Regions from separate parts of the Homo sapiens genome. Here all the other regions are linked to region 2. The links are contacts of gene promoters, found by promoter capture Hi-C in human tissues and cell types (Jung and others, 2019). All regions are on one chromosome and are shown on one strand. Each heading gives the region's core, a stretch centred on a gene start or on the middle of the fragment in contact. The rest is flanking DNA. Distances are from core to core; before and after follow the strand shown. Region 1 has its middle 19 kb from the start of TEKT1. Region 2 holds the start of FBXO39 (F-box protein 39). Region 3 has its middle 65 kb from the start of TEKT1.

Region 1 (3,374 bases), core at 796-3,295, 74 kb before region 2:
CTGGGCCGGGCATGGTGGCGTAATCCCAGCACTTTGGGAGGCTGAGGTGGGCGGATCACAAGGTCAGGAGATCGAGACCATCCCGGCTAACATGGTGAAACCCCGCCTCTACTAAAAATACAAAAAAATTAGCCGGGCGTGGTGGCGGGCGCGCCTGTAATCCCAGCCACCTGGGAGGCTGAGGCAGGAGAATGGCGTGAACCCGGGAGGCGGAGCTTGTGGTGAGTAGAGATCTCGCAGCTGCACTCCAGCCTGGGCGACAGATCGAGACTCCAACTCGAAAAAAAAAAAAAAAAAAATTCTGAATTGCCCCAGAGAAAATATCTCCAAATATCAATATCTGGGGATGCCCCAATAATCACCACCAGACTACTCAGAAAAATTTACAAGCACCACTTGTACACATAGAGCTTCAGGTCTTTCTTTTTATAGCCAGTATTTTCCTGAGGATAGTTCTTGCTCTTGGTCCTTTACTAGTTGTTAACTTGAAACACTGTGAACATTTTCAATGAGCAAAGGCAATCTTTATTTCAGGAATAGTGTTTCTAAGTTTTCTGTGGATATATAGTGCCATTTGTTCTATCTTTCCTGGAGTATACTTTGCAGATGACTCTCAAATCTGTGTGTCTAGCATGGACCTTTCCCTCAGCCCTGCACATTCACACACAACATCTTTTTCTTGAGGTACCTCCAGCTAGTGAAATGCAAATTAAAAAAAAAAAATTAGTCACTGCTCTCCCTCTGACCCCTCATTATTACTGTCACCATATCATTTTCCTCATCTACACTGGTGTTTTGGGTAATATTATTCCCCTAGACATTCATCCTACAAATTTTCAGTCAATTCTGATTCTTCTAACTCTTCTTCATCCTTCCCTCACCACCAAGCCACTGATTCAGCGTTTATTGAATTCCCCACAGCTGTCTTTTCCTTGCCCTTCCCACTCACCTTTCCCTCATTATCATCTCCTATTTGGACTGCTGATGTACTGTCAGAATTGGCCTTCTCACTCCACTACTTTTCTTCAATCTTCAAACTTCTGCCAAGTTAATCTTTCAGATGACCAGCTCTGATCATCATCCTCCCATATCAGAAATCAACATTGGCTCCCTGCCATCACTGCAACCTAAAAATAAACAACAAACAAACAAACACCTTTCCAAATGCAGTGCATAGATTAATCTTCCTATACCTCCTTTTTAATGACAAAAAGTAATACATTTCTGGGAAGACAGTTTCAGTGGAGGCAGCATAGAATTTGGATCTTCCTGGATATCCACATAAAAACAGACAGAACTAGATAGCAAAATCAAATACTCATGAATCACATTTACAAAAAGCTAGACAAGTAATCCCTGCAAACTCCAAAACAGGACAAACCACCAACAGCCATAAGACCTATGTGTTATCCACATCTCACCTGTGCAAGAGAACTTGGAAGAAAACAACAGGACATATGACAAACCTGAAAATGGTAAAATTGTAGTAGGCCAATTTGGGAACAACAGCTGGAACTAGGAGGGAACATGCCCATTTGTTTTAGGCCATTCTCGCACTGCTGTAAAGAAATACCTGAGACTGGCTCATTTACAAGAAAAGAGGTTTAATTGGCTCATGGTTCTACCGGCTGTACAGGAAACATAGTGGCTTCTGCCTCTGGGAAGGCCTCAGGAAGCTTCCAATCATGGAAAAAGGCAAAGGGGGAGCAGGCACATCATATCCTGAAGGCAGGAGCAAGGAAGAGGGGGAGAAGGTGCCTGATATGGTTCGGATCTGTGTCCCCACCTAAATCTTGTGTCAAGTTGTAATTTTCAAATGTCAGAAATGGGACCTGGTTGGAGGTGATTGGCTCATGCGGGTGGATCCTTCGTGAATGGTTTAGCACTATCCGTTGGTACTGTTCTTATGATAGAGTTCTCATGAGATCTGGTTGCTTTAAAGTGTGTGGCACCTCTCCCCTCTCTCTCTCTTCCTCTGGCTCCAGCCATGTGGCTCTCCCTCCACCTTCCATCATGATTTTGTTTCCTGAGGCCTCCCAGAAGCCAAGTAGATGCCAGCATCATACTTCCTGTTCAGCCTGTGGAACCATGAGCCAATTAAATATTTTTTCTTTATAAATTACCCAGTCTCAGGTATTTCTTTATAGCAATGCAAGAACAGACTAAAACAGTGTCGCATACTTTTAAACGACCAGATGTCAGGAGAAGTCACCCACTAGCGCGAGAACAGCACCAAGGAGATGGTGATAAACCATTCATGAGAAATCTCCTCGACAATCCAGTCACCTCCCACCAGGCCCTACCTCCAACAATAGGGATTATAGTTTGATATGATATTTAGAGGGGACACAGATCCAAAGCCTATCACCACTGTAATAGCAAGTAGGTGCCAGGCACAGTTGATAAGATCTAAGGACCTACGGGAACTCCTGAAACTGGTCAGCCAAGGCTGTCTTCCAGGATGGAGCGGAACACTTCAGAGAAACCCTTGGAAAAACTCAACTGAAATAAATGAAAGAAAAGATCCAGAAAAGCACAGGGTGGGGAAACAAAGCCAGGAAATCTCCAAAAGCAGGCCATCATGTTTTTGAACATTACAAGAACAAAAATGGATGGGGATCCAAGAAGTTAGATGTGTTATCTGAACAAGCTTCTTTTTATTAACATGGAAAACAAAATTCACATAAAAATGGCAGTAGAAAAGTAGTGAAGTCAAATCCCATACAAAGTTACTATAAGAAAAGAGACAATAAAGGGCAAAATAATATCATTACACAAAACAAAAGCACAACGGAAAGATGAACAAAAACCAAAGCAAAGGATCAGAAAGAATACTAAAAGCTGTAATTCAAGAAAATGAGGGGGAACTTGGCAAGATAGCCAAATAGGAACAGCTCCGGTCTGCGGCTCCCAGCGAGACCTATGAGGAAGATGGGTGATTTTTGCATTTCCAACTGAGGTACCCAGTTCATCTCATTGGGACTGGTTAGACAGTGGGTGCAGCTCACGAAGGGTGAGCAGAAGCAGGGTGGGGCGTCGTCTCACCTGGGAAGTGCAAGGGGTCAGGAACTCCCTCCCGTAGCCAAGGGAAGCCATGAGGGACTGTGCCATGAAGGACTGTACTATTCAGCCCAGATACTATGCTTTTCCCACGGTTTTTGCAACCAGCAGACCAGGAGATTCTCTCAGGTGCCTACACCACAAGGGCCCTGGGTTTCAAGCATAAAAGTGGGTGGCCATTTGGGCAGACACTGAGCTAGCTGCAGGAGTTTTTTGTTGTTGTTGTTGTACCCCAGTGGCACCTGGAACCCCAGTGAGACAGAACCTTTCACTCCCCTGGAAAGGGGGCTGAAGCAAGGGAGCCAAGGTGGTCT
Region 2 (3,633 bases), core at 421-2,920:
CGTAAAGGACTGAACAGCAGCCCGTCCCGCCCATGACGTGGCGCCCTAGTGGTTCCCAGCATGGCTGTGTCCGTATTTAGCTTGCCTCCTTCTGCTACCTCTTGCCAGTGCCCCTCTTTGTATAATCTGTGTCCTTGCCTTTCTCTCCCAAGGGACCCACACACCCCTTGACAACCTCCTTCTGCTTTTGAGAAGGTACTTAAACATTTAACAAATGAAGAAATAGGTCTCTTCAATCACTTGCAAACTGCCCAAGGCTAGGGATCTCCACAGCACTCACCACCAAGCAAAGCTCCTAAAAGGTGCTGCAGAAGAGATAAACCAGTTTAAAAGCTCCACGAAGCAAAGACTTGGAATCAACCCAAATGCCCATCAATGATCGACAGGATTAAGAAAATGTGGCACATATACACCATGAAATACTATGCAGCCATAAAAAAGAATGAGTTCATGTCCTTTGCAGGGACATGGATGAAGCTGGAAACCATCATTCTCAGCAAACTAACGCAGGAACAGGAAATCAAACACTGCATGTTCTCACTCATAAGTGGGAGTTGAACAATGAGAACACATGGACACAGGGAGAGGAACATCACACAATGGGGCCTGTCGGGGGGTGGCGGGCAAGGGGAGGGAGAGCATTAGGACAAATACCTAATGCATGCGGGGCTTAAATTCTAGATGACAGGTTGATGGGTGCAGCAAACCACCATGGCACATGTATACCTATGTAACAAACCTGCATGTTCTGCACATGTATCCCAGAACTTAAAGTATAATAAAATAAATAAGTAAATAAAAGCTCCATGAAACCTTTTGGCCTAGCAAGGTTGTAGGTCAGGAAAAGTCATCAGACACTGGTGCTGTAAGGGTGGGGTTGGAAGAATATGTGTGTCTGGAAGAGTTGCTGTAAGGAGACTCCAAATTCTATTTAATGACTGGGAGCCTCCCCTTACCCCCCGAGACCCCATCAGAGGCAGTGTAGCTTAGTGGGCTGCATCCTAGCTATGCCCATTACAGTCGGATGACCTTAGGCAAGTCAATTTCTTTATGTGTGAATCCTCACATCTGTATATGGGGTAATAATAGTGCCTTTCTCTTAGTGTTGGGAGGATTAAGTGAGCTGATACCTGGAAAGCACCGGGAACAGTGAGTGCCTGCCACGTAGTAAACGCTATACAAGAGCTGGCTGCCATTAATAAGAAAGTTGGTGCCGAGGTACTTCTGCAACGTCCCGCCAAGGAAGATAGGAATACAAACACATCCATTTCACAAATACGGAAACGGAGGTGTTGGAAGGTGAATAAAGTTTCCCAGGGAGAACGTGTAGTAAGTGGGGAGATAGGATTCGAACCCAGGGTTGGTCCACCATATCACACAGCTGCCAACCAGGGAGGGAAATCTAAAGATGTCCTACCCACCGCGGGAGGGGGAGTTGGCCTGGCAACTCCTGCAGCCAAAGATGCTTCCCAGAGGGGGTGATGAGAGCAGCCCGCCTCCCCGCCGCGGGCCTCGGGGCATCCCACCGCCACCCCAGCCTGCTCCGGCCCGCATTCTCCCGTTACCCGTTCGCTGAACCCCGCTCGGGCTGCAGGGACTGGAGCGCGCCTACCTGCTCCGCCCGCGCAGCTGTTGCTCCGACGCCAACTCCATGGGCGCCCCGGGTCTGCGCCTTGCTCTGGCCCAAGCTAAATGCCAAGCTCCGGCCGCCTTTGTGACGCGCTGCCGCCTGCAAGGCTCTGTTCCTGCCCCCGGGTCGCAGAGCCCCAAACCTGCAGTTGCCTGGTCAGTGGATCCCATGTGCAGAGGGCGAGACGGGGCCCTGGCCAGGCGTTGGGAGGCGGGAGGCTCGGCCGGCGCTCCGGGTGAGGATGGCACGCCCCCGCCCTTGCTTCTGCGCACAGGGAAGACATTCGGCCCCGAACTTGGGGCTCAAAACGGTTCAGTTCGCTGCCTTTCCCATCCTGACCCAGCCCCGGGTTTTTTCCGAAGCCGCCGCTGGATAGGTTGCATTACTAGGCTTCCCCCAGCCACTCTCCCTGCCCAAAGCCTTCAGAAGCCGCCCCTCTCCCCTTCACCTGGCCCTTATCCACTGTCCCAGCCTCATTTCTTTCCCCCTCCCTGAATGTCTTCTGCTCCCCTTTCCTTGGGCACTGCCCTTATCCTGGGGTCCTGGCTGCTGCCATTCCTGGCCCTGGAAAACCAGTGCGGAACCCAAAGAAAGGTGGAAGAGCAGCTTTTAGAGAGGTGTTTTTATTCTTTGGGGACAAAGCCGGGTTCTGTGGGTGTAGGATTCTCCAGGTTCTCCAGGCTGTAGGGCCCAGAGGCTTAATCAGAATTTTCAGACAAAACTGGAACCTTTCTTTTTTCCCGTTGGTTTATTTGTAGTCCTTGGGCAAACCAATGTCTTTGTTCGAAAGAGGGAAAATAATCCAAACGTTTTTCTTTTAACTTTTTTTTTAGGTTCAGGGGCACATGTGTAGGCTTGCTATATAGGTAAATTGCATGTCACCAGGGTTTGTTGTACAGATTATTTCATCATCCAGATAAAAAGCATAGTACCAGATAGGTAGTTTTTTGATCCTCACCCTCCTTCCATGCTCCGACCTCAGGTAGGCCCCAGTGTCTGCGGTTCCCTTCTTTGTATCCATGTGTACTCAATGTTTAGCTTCTACTTATAAGTGAGAACATGTGGTATTTGGTTTTCTGTTTCTGAGTGAGTTCATTTAGGATAATGGCTTCCAGCTCCATCCACGTTGCTGCACAGGACATGATCCCATTCTTTTTTATGGCTGCATAGTATTCCATGGTGTATATGTGCCACATTTTCTTTTTTTTTTTTTTAAGGCAGAGTCTCGCTTGGTTGCCCAGGCTGGAGTGCAGTGGCAGGATCTCGGCTCACTGCAACCACCACCTTCCAGGTTCAAGCGATTCTCACGCCTAGGCCTCCCAAGTAGCTGGGATGACAGGTGCTCGCCACCACGCCTGGCTAATTTTCGTATTTTTAGCGGAGACGGAGTTTCTCCATGTTGGCCAGGCTGGTCTCAAACTCCTGACCTCAGGTGAACCACCCGCCTCAGCCTCCCAAAGTGCTGGGATTACAGACATGAGCCACCACTCCCTGCCACCACATTTTCTTTATCCTTTCTACCACTGATGGACATTTAGTTTGATTCCCTGACTTTGCGATTGTGTATAGTGCTGCCGTGAACATTTGTGTATATATGTCTTTATGACAGAATGATTTAGATTCCTTTGGGTATATAACCAATAATGGGATTGCTGAGTCAAATGGTAATTCTGTTTAATCATGTCCCATTTGTCAATTTTTGCTTTCGTTACAATTATTTTTGGGATCTTTGTCATGAAATCTTTTTCCGTTCCTATGTCCAGAATGGTATTGCCTAGGTTATCTTCCAGAGTTTTTATAGTTTGGGGTTTTACATTTAAGTCTTTAATCCATCTTGAGTTGATTTTTGCATATGGTGTAAGGAAGTGGTTCAGTTTCAATCCTCTGCATATGGCTAGCTAGTTATCCCAGTACCACTTACTGAATGGGGAATTCTTTCCCCATTGCGTATTTTTGTCAACTTTGTCAAAGATTAGATGGTTGTAGGTGTGTAGCTTTATTTC
Region 3 (3,444 bases), core at 872-3,371, 120 kb before region 2:
GAAGCTCTTCAGGCATGAGGCAGGTTTGGGAGAGGCCTTCCATGGAGGAAGGAGAGCTTGGGGGAGGAATGGGAAAGGGAAACAACCCCTAGGATTCTTCCAATATTGAACCATCCTCCCCTTCACCCATCCATTTCCATACCAGGTCAAAAATTCCCCATTCGGAGACAAGACTACTCTGGGCCAGCGTGTTGATCGCCATGGTGTAGCGGAAGTGGGGGATCAGGAGCTGATTATGGAAGAAAGAAATGGGACATGGTCAAATAAGAGAGTTCCCAGCATCCATGAGGGAAGAGGATGTTAAAGGAAGTGACAGAAAAGAAGGGAGAGGATGGGTCTTTATGAAATGGAGAGACTTCTCGTTAAATTGGAGTGGGTCAGGGTAACATTTGGGAATATAGAGATGGGAAAATGTCTTCTCAGAGCATCCCGTGGTGAAAGTTTTAGGAGTTCACTTATTTCCACAGTTTCATGTCCTTGGAAGAATTCTAAAAATCCCATATCCTCGCAGGTACCCACATATGAGCCCATCCCTTTTTGCCTTCACCCTCCTATAATTATATTCCTTCTCCTCTCTCTGTCATACAAACATGTGCAATATTGGATACCCTAAAGAAAACCTGTGCTTGACCCCCACATCCTTGTCTTGCCATCTCCCTGTTTCTTGCTTTCCCTTTCACAGCAAATCTTCACTCAGTGTTGTCTTTGCTTACCCACCTCACATTTGCTGCTCACCCCCATGAATCAGGCTTCCTCCACTTCCCTGAGATGGCGCATGTCCATTTATTAACCAATGACTTCCATATTGAGAAATCCAAATGTCACTTCTCTGTAACTTTCTTGATCTCTCAGCAGCACTTGAGACAGATAATCACGCGTCCCTCTTGAAACGCTTTCTTTTCCTGGCTGCCATGGATTGCACTTTTTGATTTTCCTCCTACCTCAATGAGGTTCCTTCTCTTGTTTCTTTTCTCACTCTGCTCCCTTCTCTCAGTCTGTAAATGTTGGTTCACCCTAGAGTTATATCTCGGTCAAATTCTCTACAAACCCTAGAGAACTTCATCCAGTACAATGACTTTGATACTTTTGTTTTCTAATGACTCTAAAATCTGTATTTTCAACCTACACCTCTTCTAGGAACTCCAGACTCACATATCCAGTTGCCCTCCTGACATGTGCAAATGGGTCTTTATAGGCATTGGAAGCCCCACATGGTCAGAAAATAACTCTTGATTCTTCTCCCCGCTAAGTAACATGGCTTCTTCTCTCATCTCCTCCCACTTCTTCTTCCTCCTCATCCCAACTCATGCCCTACACTTTAATCTCACCCAATCTCAGCCATTATCCATGTTCCCTTCTTTCCTCGCCTCTTTAGATCTTTGTGGCTGTAATGTTCCACCCCTCACTTGCCCACCTGGAAACCTCCTCAGCCAAAATTTCAACTCCTTTGCAAAACCTATTCTCACTTCTCCCCCCAACTCATAGTAAGTGTGTGTCCTGGGTGTTTCCATATTACTGTGTATGTGTACGCGTGTGTGTATGTATCTGTGTATGTGTCTCCACATATAAATTGATTGCTGCTAGACTGAAATGTACAAGGTTAGACTCTTTGTAGGAGTCTGAAATATGAAGGACAGTCAGATACAGAATGACAGAGATGCTGAAGTACCTTGTAGATAGGATGGAGGCTAGGCAAGCTTCTCATTGTAGCCACAGCAATAACCTCAGCAATCAAGTGTCCCCTCAGCAGATGTGACTGTAACTGCTGCAGCTGGAAATCAGAGCTCCGGACCCAGGTCTTGGCCAGGAGCCAGGCCATGGGGGGATGCGAGGGCAGAAAGAGCAGAGGTGGGGGACATCCGTGTCAAGGTGGCTGGAGCTAGAGCAGGAGAGAGAGTGGGGGCTGAGAACTTGTGTATCTAAGTCCCTAAAGGAGATCAGTGTCTGGTAGAAAAATACCTGGGCCCTCTCACCTGGATGACCATGGGTAAGAGTCCTCCATCAGGCTGAAGCTTCAGCATGACCAAAGGGGCTGCCACGCATTGCTGCTTAAAAATGATGACATTAGGCTTGACTCCATCCAGCAAGGAGAAATCCACTTCAAACAGAGATCCAGCCTACAGGGCCAGGGGCAGGAATAGAAAACAGGGTTGGAGTTGTTTCTGGAGCTGCCCTTCTCTCATTTTCCAGGGTGGATCCTTCCTCTACCCACCCAAGTCTTTTTTACTTTAAACACCAATCACTTTCTGCAGAACCAAAAAACTGAATGCAAAGTTTTCATGACTGATGTCTTCCTTCAGACTTGGAGCTCCCTGCAGCGAAGTTTCTGGTTTTCCACCACATAAGGCCACTGCATTCTTCACGTATCCCCTCTTCTGCCAGCTTTAGCCAATGTAGCAAAAATATTTCCTTTAGCTACCCATCTCCCCCCAAAAACAGATTCAGCTTTTAGCTCTCCAAGGCTTTGTTTAGTTTTTCTTGCTATTTCTCTCCAGAAGCTTGCGCTTTTCCCTAAGGCTGATATATGTTCAATGAAGAAGGAAGAGAGGAATGTGGAGAAAGAAAAGAAGATACAGGAGGAGATGTTGTAGATCAATGTTCTCAATCAGGGGCAATTCCTCCTCTCCCCAACCCCAGGACATTCAGCACTATCTAGACACATTTTTGGTTGTCACAACCGGGGGGATGCTGCTGGCATCAATGGGTAGAGGCCAGGAATGCTACTAAACACCCTACGATCCACAGGAAAGCCCCCCCCCCCCCCCCCCGCCAGCCAACAGAGAATTATGTGGTGCAGAATGTTAATAGTGCCAACGTTGAGAAACCTTGGGTGTAGATGGAGGAGATGAGAGAAGGGGCTGGAGATGGGAGGAGAAGGGAGGTGGGGGTAATGGCTGGGATGGTGGATGGGCAGAAAGCCCAGCAGCACCTGGAGTTCTTTCTCCAGCTGGGTCTTCAAGTCTTCCATCCCTGGAGGCAGCACCAGGCAGGCTGGGAGCCTTGAAGAACACCTCAGGAGCATGGGGTTTGCACCATTGAGAAACTGGTACCCAAAGAAGGCATCATTCTTCCAAGAATCATAAACCCGCTCTAGGAACATCAATTGGGGAGCACCCTGTGAGCTCTGAGCTCCGAACTCCTAATCCCACTGATCTAATCCTCCATCCCCCTCCTTTTTCAAATCCCTGGGTTGGAAGTCTGTATATTGGTTTTGGGAGGTTGTGAAAACTGACCAGCCAGGACAGTCTTTCCATGTGGGAATATTTTTTTGAAATCTTCCAGCCTTTTCACACAATTTATGAAATCCAGTGTCCCCTTAATGGCCAAGTCCTTCAACCTGTGGAAAGAATGGAGTGCAAGAAGATCAAGGAAGCATCCCACCTTGTGCCCTAGGAAGCAAGTGCCCAGCCTCTACCTGGTACTCACCCTTTTGCTAGGGAGACA

What was found. The method cuts DNA at HindIII sites, captures the fragments that hold promoters and counts their contacts. A contact is called where the count stands out against the background at its distance.
Region 1: a fragment that was not itself captured here is called in contact with the fragment with the promoter of FBXO39 in region 2 in 2 of the 25 tissues and cell types used here (H1 embryonic stem cells and dorsolateral prefrontal cortex).
Region 3: a contact is called between a fragment that was not itself captured here and the fragment with the promoter of FBXO39 in region 2, in 2 of the 25 tissues and cell types used here (mesenchymal stem cells and spleen).

What each region holds. Positions count from the first base shown.
Region 1 is chr17:6,849,155-6,852,528 of GRCh38, reverse strand. No RefSeq gene overlaps it. Among named protein-coding and RNA genes, the nearest start is that of TEKT1, 19 kb to the right of the region's middle. The HindIII fragment of the contact is 4,954 bases long and covers 1-3,374 here.
Region 2 is chr17:6,774,252-6,777,884 of GRCh38, reverse strand. It overlaps FBXO39 (F-box protein 39), which reads right to left and starts at 1,670. Exons shown (of 4, transcript NM_153230.3): 1 at 1,613-1,670. It overlaps XAF1 (XIAP associated factor 1), which reads right to left. Exons shown (of 7, transcript NM_017523.5): 7 at 2,238-3,633. LOC124903905 (a long non-coding RNA gene) reads left to right here and starts at 1,775. Exons shown (of 3, transcript XR_007065594.1): 1 at 1,775-1,865. The HindIII fragment of the contact is 13,622 bases long and covers 1-3,633 here.
Region 3 is chr17:6,894,989-6,898,432 of GRCh38, reverse strand. It overlaps the pseudogene ALOX12P2. Among named protein-coding and RNA genes, the nearest start is that of TEKT1, 65 kb to the right of the region's middle. The HindIII fragment of the contact is 4,243 bases long and covers 1-3,444 here.